Regions from separate parts of the Homo sapiens genome. Here region 1 is linked to region 2. Evidence: promoter capture Hi-C in 16 types of primary human blood cells and fetal thymus (Javierre and others, 2016). All regions are on one chromosome and are shown on one strand. The core of a region is centred on a gene start or on the middle of the fragment in contact, and the rest is flanking DNA. Distances in the headings are between cores, read along the strand shown. Region 1 overlaps LINC02966 (long intergenic non-protein coding RNA 2966). Region 2 holds the start of PAX8-AS1 (PAX8 antisense RNA 1).

Evidence for each region. The method cuts DNA at HindIII sites, captures the fragments that hold promoters and counts their contacts. A CHiCAGO score of 5 or more calls a contact.
Region 1: a contact is called between a fragment that was not itself captured here and the fragment with the promoter of PAX8-AS1 in region 2, in 1 of 17 cell types (naive CD8 T cells). The highest score is 5.6, in naive CD8 T cells.

What each region holds. Positions count from the first base shown.
Region 1 is chr2:113,351,679-113,357,924 of GRCh38, forward strand. The region is part of intron 2 of LINC02966 (long intergenic non-protein coding RNA 2966); the gene reads left to right. LOC124906070 (a long non-coding RNA gene) reads right to left here. Exons shown (of 3, transcript XR_007087202.1): 2 at 5,998-6,048; 3 at 3,697-3,780. Among named protein-coding and RNA genes, the nearest start is that of LINC02966, 30 kb to the left of the region's middle. The HindIII fragment of the contact is 2,522 bases long and covers 2,168-4,689 here.
Region 2 is chr2:113,233,654-113,239,783 of GRCh38, forward strand. It overlaps PAX8-AS1 (PAX8 antisense RNA 1), which reads left to right and starts at 2,616. Exons shown (of 6, transcript NR_015377.2): 1 at 2,616-2,969. It overlaps PAX8 (paired box 8), which reads right to left. Exons shown (of 12, transcript NM_003466.4): 8 at 2,948-3,068; 9 at 1,741-1,929. RefSeq lists an enhancer at 1,513-1,702 and a silencer at 1,953-2,032. The HindIII fragment of the contact is 8,895 bases long and covers 1-6,130 here.

The sequences.
Region 1 (6,246 bases), core at 2,179-4,678, 120 kb after region 2:
TAGAATTTCTTATAAATAGAATCTAACAGTATACAGTTTTTTATGTCTGGACTTTTTACTTAGCATGATGCCTTTGAGATTAATCTATGTTGTTGCATACGCCAGTAGTTCTTTCCTTTTTATCGCTGAGTAGTATTCAATTGCATTGATGTAGACATTTGAGTTATTTCCAGTTTTTGGCGATTATGAATAAGGCTCACATGAACATTCATGTACAAGTCTTTGTATGAACAAACAGATGATGACTCCACTTATCCCACAAGCAATACAGGACATGCCCACTTTACATTTCTTCCCATTCAAGTCATTGTAATAAAGATTTATTATTCCTTGTGCTAGACATCGTGTAGGAATACAGACACAGTTAAGCCCCATGGATATTACAATATAGTGAGAGAAATAGACGCACACATGGGTCGTTCACATGCAAAGCAGATCACCAAGATAGAGGAACCAACAACAAGGGGACAGGGAGAGAGCACACTGACTGAGGGGACGGGGGAAATCAGGAAGGATTGCTTAGAGGAGGCAGAAGCAGTGTGAATAAAGACCTGGAGGAAAGAAGGCAGGACTTGTTTGAGGGCTGACAAATACCCATGTTAAATTCTATCTCACTTGGCCAGCCATCCTTGTAAAGCCATTGTAAGTGCTTGTCCTCCTCAAAACTTCTGCAATGTACTCTTCATACTGCCAATCAGCTTTCCTTGTCAGGAGAGGGAATTTTTCAGCCTACTTTGCAAATAAAGCTATATCCCAACACGGTCTGAGCCCAAGAGCCAAACATTTGATCCAAGGGGTGGATGGTGGTATCCTCAAATGTGGCCCGAGGAGAGGCTGGGATACTGGAGAACAGGTCTACACTAATTGGAAAGCCAGCCAAAGGGAGGAGCAGGTCCAGAGCAGGCAGGAGCAGTCCTCATCCTGGGCAGCTGGTGCACGTGTACACAGGTGTCTCTTCAAATTCATTGTCTATGGCAAAGAGATGTCAACTCCTCATGGATGAATGAATGAATGAACATATGTCACCAGTAGGCTCTCATATGTGTTCCAGTATATTATACATTCAATCTGGATCAATCAGATGTGCAGACACTTGAACAACCTACAGTTCTCACTTGCTGCTTTCTGGTTAAGTGCTCAGCAGTCCACATGCGGAGTTGAATGTCTAAGAAAATAATTTCTTTGCGTTCTGATGCTGTAAAATATTGTTTGGATTAAAAGGGCAGGAACAAATTGATGGATCTGAAAGTTTTTTTTCTTTTGGCTTGGCGATGACAGGGCAATCCATCAGACAACTTCCTTGGCTCCCTGTGACATTTCAAGCTCAAATGTTATAGCTTTCTTATTTTTTCTTTTCTCTTTTTTTTTTCACCCCCAGCTCTCTATTGAACTGTGCCTCCAGGAAATGCATGCTGTTGATATGAGTTCCATGACACTTGTCATACAGGAGGCACTCGGTAGAGGCTTGTGGAATAATGGCTGGGAGTACTCAGGTTAGCTTAGCAGGTTGTGCCAAAGATGAGGTAACTCCTTAACCCACCTATGATGCTGCCTCCATCTGTGCCCTAGAGCATGCAGCAAAGAGTTCTTTCAAAATAGAGCAGGCTCCAGACAATGTTCAATGATGCAGCTGCCCACAGAATGTGATTTCAGCATCTGGATTATATGCAGAGAGAAAACATGAGAAGTCAGAATGCTTGGAATTTCACCTGGATCTGCCACCATGCATAATGTGAATTTGGAAATGCTACTTAACTTCTCCAAGACACAGCTTATGAATCTTTGAGCCAGAGAAAATAAGTAAGTGTAAGAATCAGATGAGGTAATGACTGTGGATATAGTATAAAAATACGGAAAGTAATTAGAAATGAAATACACCCTCTGTAGTAGTTATCTGTTGATGTATAACAAACAACCCCAAACTTGGGTGAATTGAAACAACAATCATTTATTAATTATCTCATAGTATAATGGGTCAGAAATCTGGGAGTGGTGTAACTGGGAGTCTGCTCACAGGCTCTCAAGACGTTGGCTGGAACCACATCATCTGAAGGTTTGACTGGGGCTGGAGAATCATCTCCCAAGATGGGTCACTCATGTGGCTGTTGGCAGGAAGTCTTAGTTCCTTGCTGACTGTTGTCAGGAGGCTGCAGTTACTCTCCATGGAAGCTTCTTCCTAAGACTGTTTGAGTGTCCTCACCACAGGGAAGCTGGCTTCCCACAGAGTGAGTGATCCAAGGCAGATGTCATTATGTGCTTTATGACACAGGTGCAGAAGTCAAACACTGTGATCACCTCAATACCCTATTGGTTCTCCAGGTCACCCCTATTCAGTCTGGGAGGAGACTACACAAGGATATGATTTCCAGGAGATGGGGATCACTGTGAGCCATGCTGGAGGCTAACCTCCACATCCTCTCTCAGTTTAAATGGTTCCACTGGGAAATAAGCGATATAGTTGATTACCGCTGAGGTCCTCCCCTTTTAACCACATCCCTGCTTGCTCCAATTAGCCCTCCCTCAAGCCCGCTATGTGTTGCTCTCCTTTCCCTTCTTGCTGAAAATTCCTGCTGTCATTGTCAGTCCCTTGTTTCATACTAAAATTCAGTTTTAGTCTCTAACGGGTCTCTGTGGAAATGTCTGTGTGTAGCATCTGAAGGAAGTCTCTGGTGCTCTTGTCTTATGGTGCCAGCCTCATTGGTTTGTCATTCTTTTGCTGGTGCAGCCCATTGCAATTTGCATGGTGCCATCACATGCTCATGTGAGACGGGGTCCCTCCTTTGAGAGTCAATAACGAGGTGACCAATGTTGGCAGTGAGTGAGCATGCTCTGGTCTCTGTCTTCCTCACATTTGTTATTTTCCAATGTGTGTTTCTGTCTGGGTTCTCACCTGACTCTGGCAGCCCAGGTAGACAGAGCAGGCATTGCTCCCTCCATTTTGTGGGTTGAAAAACTAAGGCTCAGAAAGTCCTAACCGAGGCATTTTCTGGAATTGGGAACACAGGAAGGAAACATATTGGGTGGTTAAAACACGGAGTTTGGCTTTAAACCTCTTGCACTTGAGGTGTCTGTGGCGTATTCGTGAAGTTAATGTGCAGCCTTGAATACAGCTTATAGATGATTAACTGGGCATGGAACGAGATCTCATATCCTGATTATTTTGCTTTATCTGTACATTTCTCCACTCCTTCCAGCTGTTGTAGTGTGTTCTGTCTTCTTGATCCCAGACGTCCTGGCTTGGTTTTTCTCAAGGCCATCCTCCTTAGCCTCACCAACCTCATTGGCCTGGTTGCACACAGCTTCGAGTGCCCACAGACCAACTGAAGGGGAGCTGCTGTCTGCTGGGGAGGGTTCTAGTGGAGGAGTCTGTGGGTCCCTGTGAAGAGAGTCTGGGAGAGGGTGCAACAGCATACGGGCTTCACCATCCATTAGCAAAAGCAGAGGCTTTTAAAACACAGTCCATCCATCCAAATGGACCTTCATGTCTATTTCCATAAGGTCCTGAGGCCCAGGCCCACCTTTACCACTAGTTAGCTGAGAAGTACTAGGGCTGAAGGTACTGATCCGGTGCTTGCTGGAGCCTGCCACACTGTCCCCACCCTACCTGTGTCAGCTTAGTCTGCAACCCCAGTCAACTCTGTTTTCTTCCACCTTGAAAACTCTTTGAAAGAACACAAGAAGTGGGGGTCCCTGAGGGCCGGGCACCCCTCATGTTCAGGCCCACAGGCCATTTAGGCAGCTGCTTCTCCAACCTTATCTTCCTTCTGCCTCCATGGAAACCTGAGAAAGACGGAAAGGGGGAAGCGGCTGTGCTTTCCCAACACAAATAACCCCACAGAGCTTTCTCAGCAGTGACCCTTAGCCTGTTGTGTCAGCCTCAGGCTGAGGGAGGAAGGAAATAGACCTTCTATTGAGTATTTTTCTTCCCCTGTCAAGAAGATCAGAGGAACTAAGAGGGAAAGAAAAGGAGTCAAAAGCACCTTGTGGCCTCCTCCTGCAGGATTTGTGTTGCTCTTCCCCTCCCCTCTTGAACTCTAAGTAAACAAACTCCCCAGCCAAGGAAGGCCCCAGGCCCAACTCCAAGCAGGCCATAAATAAGAGCCCTTCAGCCTTTCACTCTCTGGCAAGTCGGGAAGGCCCTTCTGAGTGGAACATTTGATAGCGGGGGAGTGCTGGGGGGAGAGTCCTTGTGTTAATTGAATCCCAATTTCCTTCTCCCAGGCCCACTCTTATCTTTTTAATTATACGAAGCCTTTAATCTTCCCAGGACCTGTCTCTGTCATTAATGCGTGATCCTATTAGAGATAGGGGTTTGCTCAGGGGTAATGGGAGCCGCAAGCAGAGGCCTTTGGCAACTTTTTTGCTTTCTAAAGCACCCAGAGTTACCTGGGGCTGAGGCAGGGAGACATTTTGGGCTCCCCTCAGCTCTCAGATGGAGTTCCTTGGGCCATCTGTGTTTAAACCGTGTCTGAGATTAGACTCTTATGGTCAGTATCTGTTGTGGCCCTGAAACTGCAGAGTAGCTCCGTCTAGCAGCTAAGGGGCAGATGAGTTCAGGCAACCTGCTTAGGAAAAAAATCAGACGAATTGTACTCGCAGGATGCTGGGTGCCCAGGTGGGATTCCAGAAGGAGTTGAGGCATTGTGCATTTCCTAAATGCTAGAGCATACCTTTGGTGCTGGTGAATAAAGCTTATGTTCTCACGGGCTTTCCCTAACGCTGCAGAGATGCATTACCTCCAGGTGACAATGGCTTGGGACACTCCAGGGTTACCTTTCTCTTCAACCCCAGCTGCCTTGTCAAAGGCCTAATGAGCTGTAAACCAATACTTAGGAATGCAAAGGCCACACCCTACTTGAAGGGGTTTGGCTCATATTAAGTGTTCAATAAGTGTTTGCTAAATAACTTTTAAAACAAGAATTCCAAGAGCCATTCACTTTAGAATATGAATTCGCAGGTATTTATTGCGATTACTGCTTCTCATTTACGGCTCAATTCTACTGGACTTTTTTTTTTCTGGGCTACAAGGTGGCCTGTAGGGTCCCTTCAGCAAGGTAGTCTGGTATTTCACACATCCCTAGGTGTACAGAAAGATGGGTAAAGCTGAGTCCCTGCAAGGGGCCTCATGCTCAGTTAGGAAGATAAATTTTGTTAGTTTTCAATACATAAATATATGTGTATATATGTATACGTGTATATAAGTCAATATATAGATATATATAGTATACAACTGTATATACAATTACATATGCATGTATATGTGTGTGTGTATATTTGTGAATTGTCTTCAGAGACTTCGGCTATGATTTCAACTACATATATATGTACACACATATATACTATACATATACACACATATATGTACATATATACATACATTTATATATACACACACACAAATATGTATAGTTGAAATCGCAGCTGGCTTCTCTGAAGATGGGAGTCCATACACAGAACACCGTCAGCAAACTGTATACCTGAATGAGTAAATATTCAGATTCTGCACTGAACATCGTGTCTTGTCATCTCCCTGACTCATTATGCACAACCACTTTAGGGTCTGTAGCAGAGATGCTGTCACTGACAAAGGTCACATATCTAGAAGGTGTGAGAGTCTGGATTCTAACCCAGGTCTGATCACAAAGCCCAGCCCTCAACCCCAGAGCTCCATAGTCAAAATGTTTCTCTTTGCTTGCAACCACAGTGTCTGCTCCTGAAAGTGTGTAGGTCTGGTCACAGGCTCTTGTGAAGACATAATGATCCTGGACATGGTCCAGAGAAGAGCAATTAAAACACTCAAGGGGAAGAAAAGGCTTCTGTTTGAGGACAGATTTTTAAAAAGCAGTAAAATCTGAAAAAAGGCAGAGTGAGCAGGGCATGATGGAAATCTCTAGGATGTGGAGAGAACCAAGAGGGAGACAGCCTGCCTGCCAAGGTGGCACTCACTGAAGCTTACAACCAGCAGTTTTAGGACAATGACAAGAAAGTTCTACTTACCACGTTCCATAAGTTTGCTGCCTGCTGTGTGATCCCAAGAGGTGGCACAGGCTGAAAATATAAATAGAATCCCATCCTATGAACATATTGCTGTGAGCTCCCTACAGAACGCCTGGCTTCCCATTGTCAAATTCAAGCTCTCAGTTTCTAATGGTTGAAACCAGGAGTGAGCAAACATTTTCTGTAAAAGATCAGAGTAAATATTTCTGGCTTTGTGGATCAACACTGCCCTAAATGCTCAACTCTGCC
Region 2 (6,130 bases), core at 1,366-3,865:
GGCAACAGAGTGAGATTCCATCTCAAAAAACAAAAAAACAAAAAAAAAAGGGTCCAGGGACTTTTATCACATGACCCTGTGGTTACTCTGGGCTTGTAGAGGTCTTAATCCTCTGGTGCAGTGGTTTCGAAGTCCAAGGGCTTTCTAGGGGCAGGGACCCCTTCTAAAAGAGCAGTTCTTCAGGGGTCTGGTGAGCATACATGTCTTCTGTAAAAGGCTTCATTTCAAGAGAGCATTGAGAGGCCCAAATTTGAAACCACTGGTCCAGATGGACTGTCTGACTCTGGGCTGCCTCTGTGACAGGTCTCACACACCCCACCCACGCACTGGTCTCTGCTCCAGCATTTCAAGGTCGTCGGGGTAGGAGGGTGTGGGAGGTGAAGAGGCATTTACTTCTGTCACTAAATACCCACACTCCTTGGAGACAGTGCCGCTATTAAAGAGATTCCTCCAATGCTGAACTGAGAGCTAGCTGGCTTCCTTCCCTGGTCCTGGGCCCCCACTGGGCCCACATCTAAAATAGTCCTATCCCTGTGGAAGCCCTTGAGGTATCTGAAGACCATATGGGTCTCTGCTTCCCACTTTCACTGCATCTCAGGCCCTCTCCAACCCAAGCCAAGCGCTTGACTCTCAGCCATTCCTCAGGCCCTGGCTGGATGAGCGAAGGTCCTTCTGCCAGGAGGAGCCAGCTCCCCTTGAGGTCTGACTCATGCAGTGCAGGCCCAGGCCTCAACCAGCTACAGATGGTGCTCCTGCCCAGAGACCTTGGCAGGGACCTTCTCCTCCCTGGGCCAGGTTCCTCATCAGCATAAGAGGTTTGATCTAGAGGCTCCCTCAGGTGCTTCCAGATTTACTTATTTTTATTTATTTGTTTTTTTCTTTTTTGAGATGGAGTCTTGCTCTGTCACCCAGGCTGGAGTGCCATGGCGCCACCTCAGCTCACTGCAACCTATGCCTCCTGGGTTCAAGCGATTCTCCTGCCTCGGCCTCCCCAGTAGCTGGGATTACAGGTGTCTGCCACCACACCCCCTAATTTTTTGAATTTTAGTAGAGATGGGGTTTCATCATCTTGGCCAGGCTGGTCTTGAACTCTTGACCTTGTGATCCACCTGCCTCGGCCTCCCAAACTGCTGGAATTACAGGGGTGAGCCACCTCGCCCGGTCGGTGCTTCCAGCTTTAAATATTTTGAGGCAGTTGAGGTTCCTGATGGGAGGTCCCCCACTCCTCTCAAGTTGTTGAATCACTGAATTTATCATGTTTAACAGATGTCTGACTGTCCTCCCGGTGATGCTGTTAAGCTAGGAATGAAGATAGCTGCATCATGGAAACACAACTGGGACTGACCCTTGGCCTTTTTAGAAATTTGATCCAGAAATGGGCTCCAAAAGCCAATTCCTTTTTCCCTCCAAAATGTTCATTTTTCCTTCTATCTATTTATGCATTTACCAAGGCCAAGTTGCTACGTTACAGCACCCGGCTCCCGGCCTTAGGGTTCCTGCTTTTCCATGGGGTCTTGGGGTGGTGCATCCCCGGCACCCCTACAGCATCCGCCCCTTCCGAGCATGTCTTCCCCGTCACAGAGAACTTCATGTTGGCGCCTCCAAAAGTTGCCGGAGGAATTAGGGAACAGGGTGGGGGTGGATGAGACTGAGGCCAGAGAGGGGGCTGGCGGTCTGCCCTGAGGACCCCCGTCCCACCCGCCGCCATAGCTGCATGGCCCCGGGACCTCCCTGTCGTACCTGAGAGGAGGGCCTGGCCCGTGAACTGCCCGTACACGGAGGCAGCATGGGGAAAGGCATTGAAGGGCGGGACCCCGGAGCCGACTTGCTGCAGATCCAAAAAGGCGGAGCTAGATAAAGAGGAAGGGGTGGAGCTAGAACTGGACACCTCGGGGGTTTCCTGCTTTATGGCGAAGGGTGAGTGAGGATCTGCCGGAGGGAGGGAGACAACAAGGAGAGAGGGGTGTGAGATGGCGGGGAGGGAACACGCACAAGCCAAGCCGTGGGATGTGGAGGGTGCGGGCGGGGCGCGGGGCAGGCTCAGCTGCCCTCAGAGTCTGGGCTGGGGAGAGCCGGGGCCCACGAGGCGTGGCAAGGCGGGGAGAGAGAAGCTAGACCTCCCTGCTGCGCTTCTGCAGCGAAAATGGAGAGACCCGGAAGGCGTGTGTGCGCCCGCCTCTCCCACAGGAGGGAGCGCGGAGACCCGGGAGCGGCCTAGGACCGGAGGCGCGACCCCTCGGCCCACCTTGAGGCCCGGCCTAGGACCGGAGGCGCGACCCCTGGGCCCACCTTGAGGCCCGGCCTAGGACTGGAGGCGCGACCCCTCGGCCCACCTTGCGGGAGCCGCCTAGGACCGGAGGCGCGACCCCTCGGCCCAGCTTGAGGCCCGGCCTAGGACCGGAGGCGCGACCCCTCGGCCCACCTTGCGGGAGCCGCCTAGGACCGGAGGCGCGACCCCTCGGCCCACCTTGAGGCCCGGCCTAGGACCGGAGGCGCGACCCCTGGGCCCACCTTGAGGCCCGGCCTAGGACTGGAGGCGCGACCCCTCGGCCCACCTTACGGGAGCCGCCTAGGGCCGGAGGCGCGACCCCTCGGCCCAGCTTGAGGCCCGGCCTAGGACCGGAGGCGCGACCCCTCGGCCCACCTTGAGGCCCGGCCTAGGACTGGAGGCGCGACCCCTCGGCCCACCTTGAGGCCCGGCCTAGGACCGGAGGCGCGACCCCTGGGCCCACCTTGAGGCCCGGCCTAGGACTGGAGGCGCGACCCCTCGGCCCACCTTGAGGCCCGGCCTAGGACCGGAGGCGCGACCCCTGGGCCCACCTGGCGGCCCGGCCGGCACAGCCCGCCTCTCCTCTCCAGGCCAGGGCCCCACACCTTCCGCCTGACAGCCAGCCAAGCTCTTCAGTCCCCCGCCCTCCACCTGCCAGGGAGGCTCCGGGCGTTGTACCTGCCACCACGGGGTAGGTCTGGTGAGTCGAGAGGTTGCGCCCCAGTGGCGTGTTGGAAGGGGTCAGGGTGGCCTTCCCGTCGTCCAGGGTGCTGTTGAGCAAGGGCAGCGGGTAGAGGCCCTGGGGAGCAAAGAGAAGTCAGCGCACAGAGACGATCCAACAAGCCGACCTTCCTGCAGACCCTGAGCCTGTGTCTTAGGACTTGGCAGCCCTCATCTCCCCAGGAGAGGTCCTCATCGCCCCCTTCTTCCTTTACGTTCTCAACTCCACTCGGCACGTTTCGTTCATGCTCATTGTCCTCCCGCATCCCTGGAATTCAAGGCCAGCTGGTAGCATGGGTGCCCAGACGTGGGATAGAGAGTCTCAGCCAGAGGACCACACCCTGGTTGGATGGCTGGTCGGCTTCCTGGTTTCACCACACTGTTGGGACCCACAGAATGCAGGACGGTGCCAAGGACTGGAGCAGTCTCCAACCGGACTGTTCAGGGTCCTTGCATCTGTTAATTTATTCTTCCCCAGATAGGAAACCCAGGCACAAAGGTTTAAGAAACTTGTCCCACTTCCAGATGGGCCAAAGATAGGATTCAGATTCGAGGGATCAGAATGTGTCTGCTCTCAACCACTGCCCTAAACTGGGTGACATAAGGACCACTTCTTACATTTGCAAAGAGCTTATATCAGAGCTTTGCCTCTGTTGTCCTAGTAGAGTCCCCCAGCAGCCCAGTGACATGGGTGAGTAATATTATGTCTGTGTTTTATATGTGGAGCCTGGAACTCAGGTAAATGGCCCAATTTTGTATAGTGAAACAGACTAAACCCGGGATTTTTCGGCTGTGGACCCAGGTGCTTTACCCACCACGTGGATTTCTTCTTTTCTCTCTCCACATCCAAACAAATAGAAGTGTGCAAGTTCGGCTTGAAAATGGTATTGAGAGTTGTTTTTGTTGGAAACACTCTTTGTCAAGTACCTGGGGGTCTTCATCAGTAAGACCTCATTTTAGATGCCTCCTGGCCTCCCCTTCCCAGGAGCACAGCTATGACCTTAGGTACTCCTTCCGAAAAGAACTTGTTTAACTAAAGGTAAGTGTACCTCATCCTCACCATGGCCTCCTTCCACTGGGGAAGCAGATAGCGCAGAAAAAAGAACACACCCATTCCCCACATACCTTCACACTCGTCACATACCTGCTACGTGAGATGTGCAAAGCTGAATTCAGGGAATGCTCAGTAGTTACATAACAGTGCCACTAAAGGCAATTGTTTTCAGTGATTTCCATCGAGCTGGGTTCTGCAAAGATCCACAGCACTTTCCGGTTGCATGCTGGGCACTTTTGGAAGCTGCAGTCAATTCTGGAGGCCACCAGGGCACCATTAGCACATAGCAGCAATTATTGACTAAATGGTGCTCTGGTTCCATGCCTTCCAAGGGGGCCCACTTAGAGGCAGGGTGGAGTTGCTTAGGGCCTTTTTTTTTTTTTTTTTTTGTAGACGGAGTTTTGCTCTTGTTGCCCAAGCTGGAGTGCAATGGTGCGATCTTCGCTTACTGCAACCTCTGCTTCCTGGGTTCAAGTGATTCCCCTGCCTCAGCCTCCCGAGTAGCAGGGATTACAGGTGCGTGCTACCATGCCAGGCTAATTTTTTGTATCTTTAGTAGAGACAGGAGTTTCACCATGTTGGCCAGGCTAGTCTTAAACTCCTGACCTCATGATCTGCCTGGCTTGACCTCCCAAAGTGTTGGGATTACAGGCATGAGCCGTTGCACCTGGCCAGGGTGTGTCTTATTGAAATTGAACAAAATACCTAATTTCTAGAGCGTATAAGAGAAGTTTAAAATGCTTTATGGATGTGTTGTTTTGACAGCAAAATATCTACTCAGAATCCTATAGCTATTTCAAAATCCAAGTAACTTAGAAAAAAAGGAAAAAGAAAACCTATATAGTCAAATCTTTTGGTGATTTTGTATTCAATGACTGAAACTTCCCAGTGATTATTGGGCTTTTTAGCTGGAATTGAACTTGAATCGGGGCAGAGCAGCACAATGCTTCAGAACTTCAGCGACTCTGAGCCCTGGTTCTGCAATGACCTGCCAAGTAGCTTTAGTCTACTTGACTGCTCTGAACCTTAATTTTCTCACCTGTATGGGAATCATAGACTCTACTTTATGAGGCTGACGTAAGCATTACATGAAATTTTGTATACTTATACATAATGTGCTTAGCACCGAATACTTGGTGACAGCAGATGCCCAATGAGAGTTATCACAGATATTATTTCAGAATCGTGAAGAGTCAGAAGCCACCAAATTCTTGATTTCTGTCAATAAACTGATATTCATATTCTGTTGATTTTTTTTGATGCATTTGTAAAATAGGGAAACAAGAGCTGTATGACTTCTAGCTATGTCTGGTCATGAAATAGCAACCAGGAATAAGGCCACATGATGTTTCTGATGAACACTTCCCCCTGCCCTTTTTTTTTTTTTTTCAGATGGAGCCTCGCTCTGTCACCCAGGCTGGAGTGCAGTGGCACAATCTCGGGTCACTGCAACCTCCGCCCCCCAGCTTCAAGCGATTCTCCTGTCTCAGCCTCCCGAGTAGCTAGGATTACAGGTGCACGCCACCAGGCCTGGCTAATTTTTATATTTTTAGTAGAGATGGGATTTTGCCTTGTTGGCCAGGCTGGTCTCAAACTCCTGACCTCAGGTGACCCATCCACCTTGGCCTCCCAAAGTGCTGGGACTACAGGTGTGAGCCACCATGCCTGGTCCCCCACTTGTTGATTTTGCAGAAAAGATAGCTGTGTTACAACCTGTCCTAAGGTCAGGTATGAATACTTGTGCTTCTTTCTTGGCTCCCCAAGCCAGAGGGCATTCCTATGCCCAGGTGAGAGAGCACGGAGTGTTACTTTGGCAGCACAGTCAGTTACCAGAGGTAGGAAAAGCAAAGGCCAGGCAGGACATGAGGGGCCCTTGCACTGGCTGGTTCTCCCTGCCTTCACCACCCTCCAGGTGAATGACTGGGTGAATAATGATTGACTGAGGAGGTAATGAATAATTTATGGACACTGCTGGACCTCAGTCTCCTCATCTGAAAGATGAGTGGTTGGAGAAGTTTAATGGTTTTCAAATGCTTTTTTTTTCAGTCTTCAAATAAGTGTTTACGTAGAAGCACCATATCTGAAAC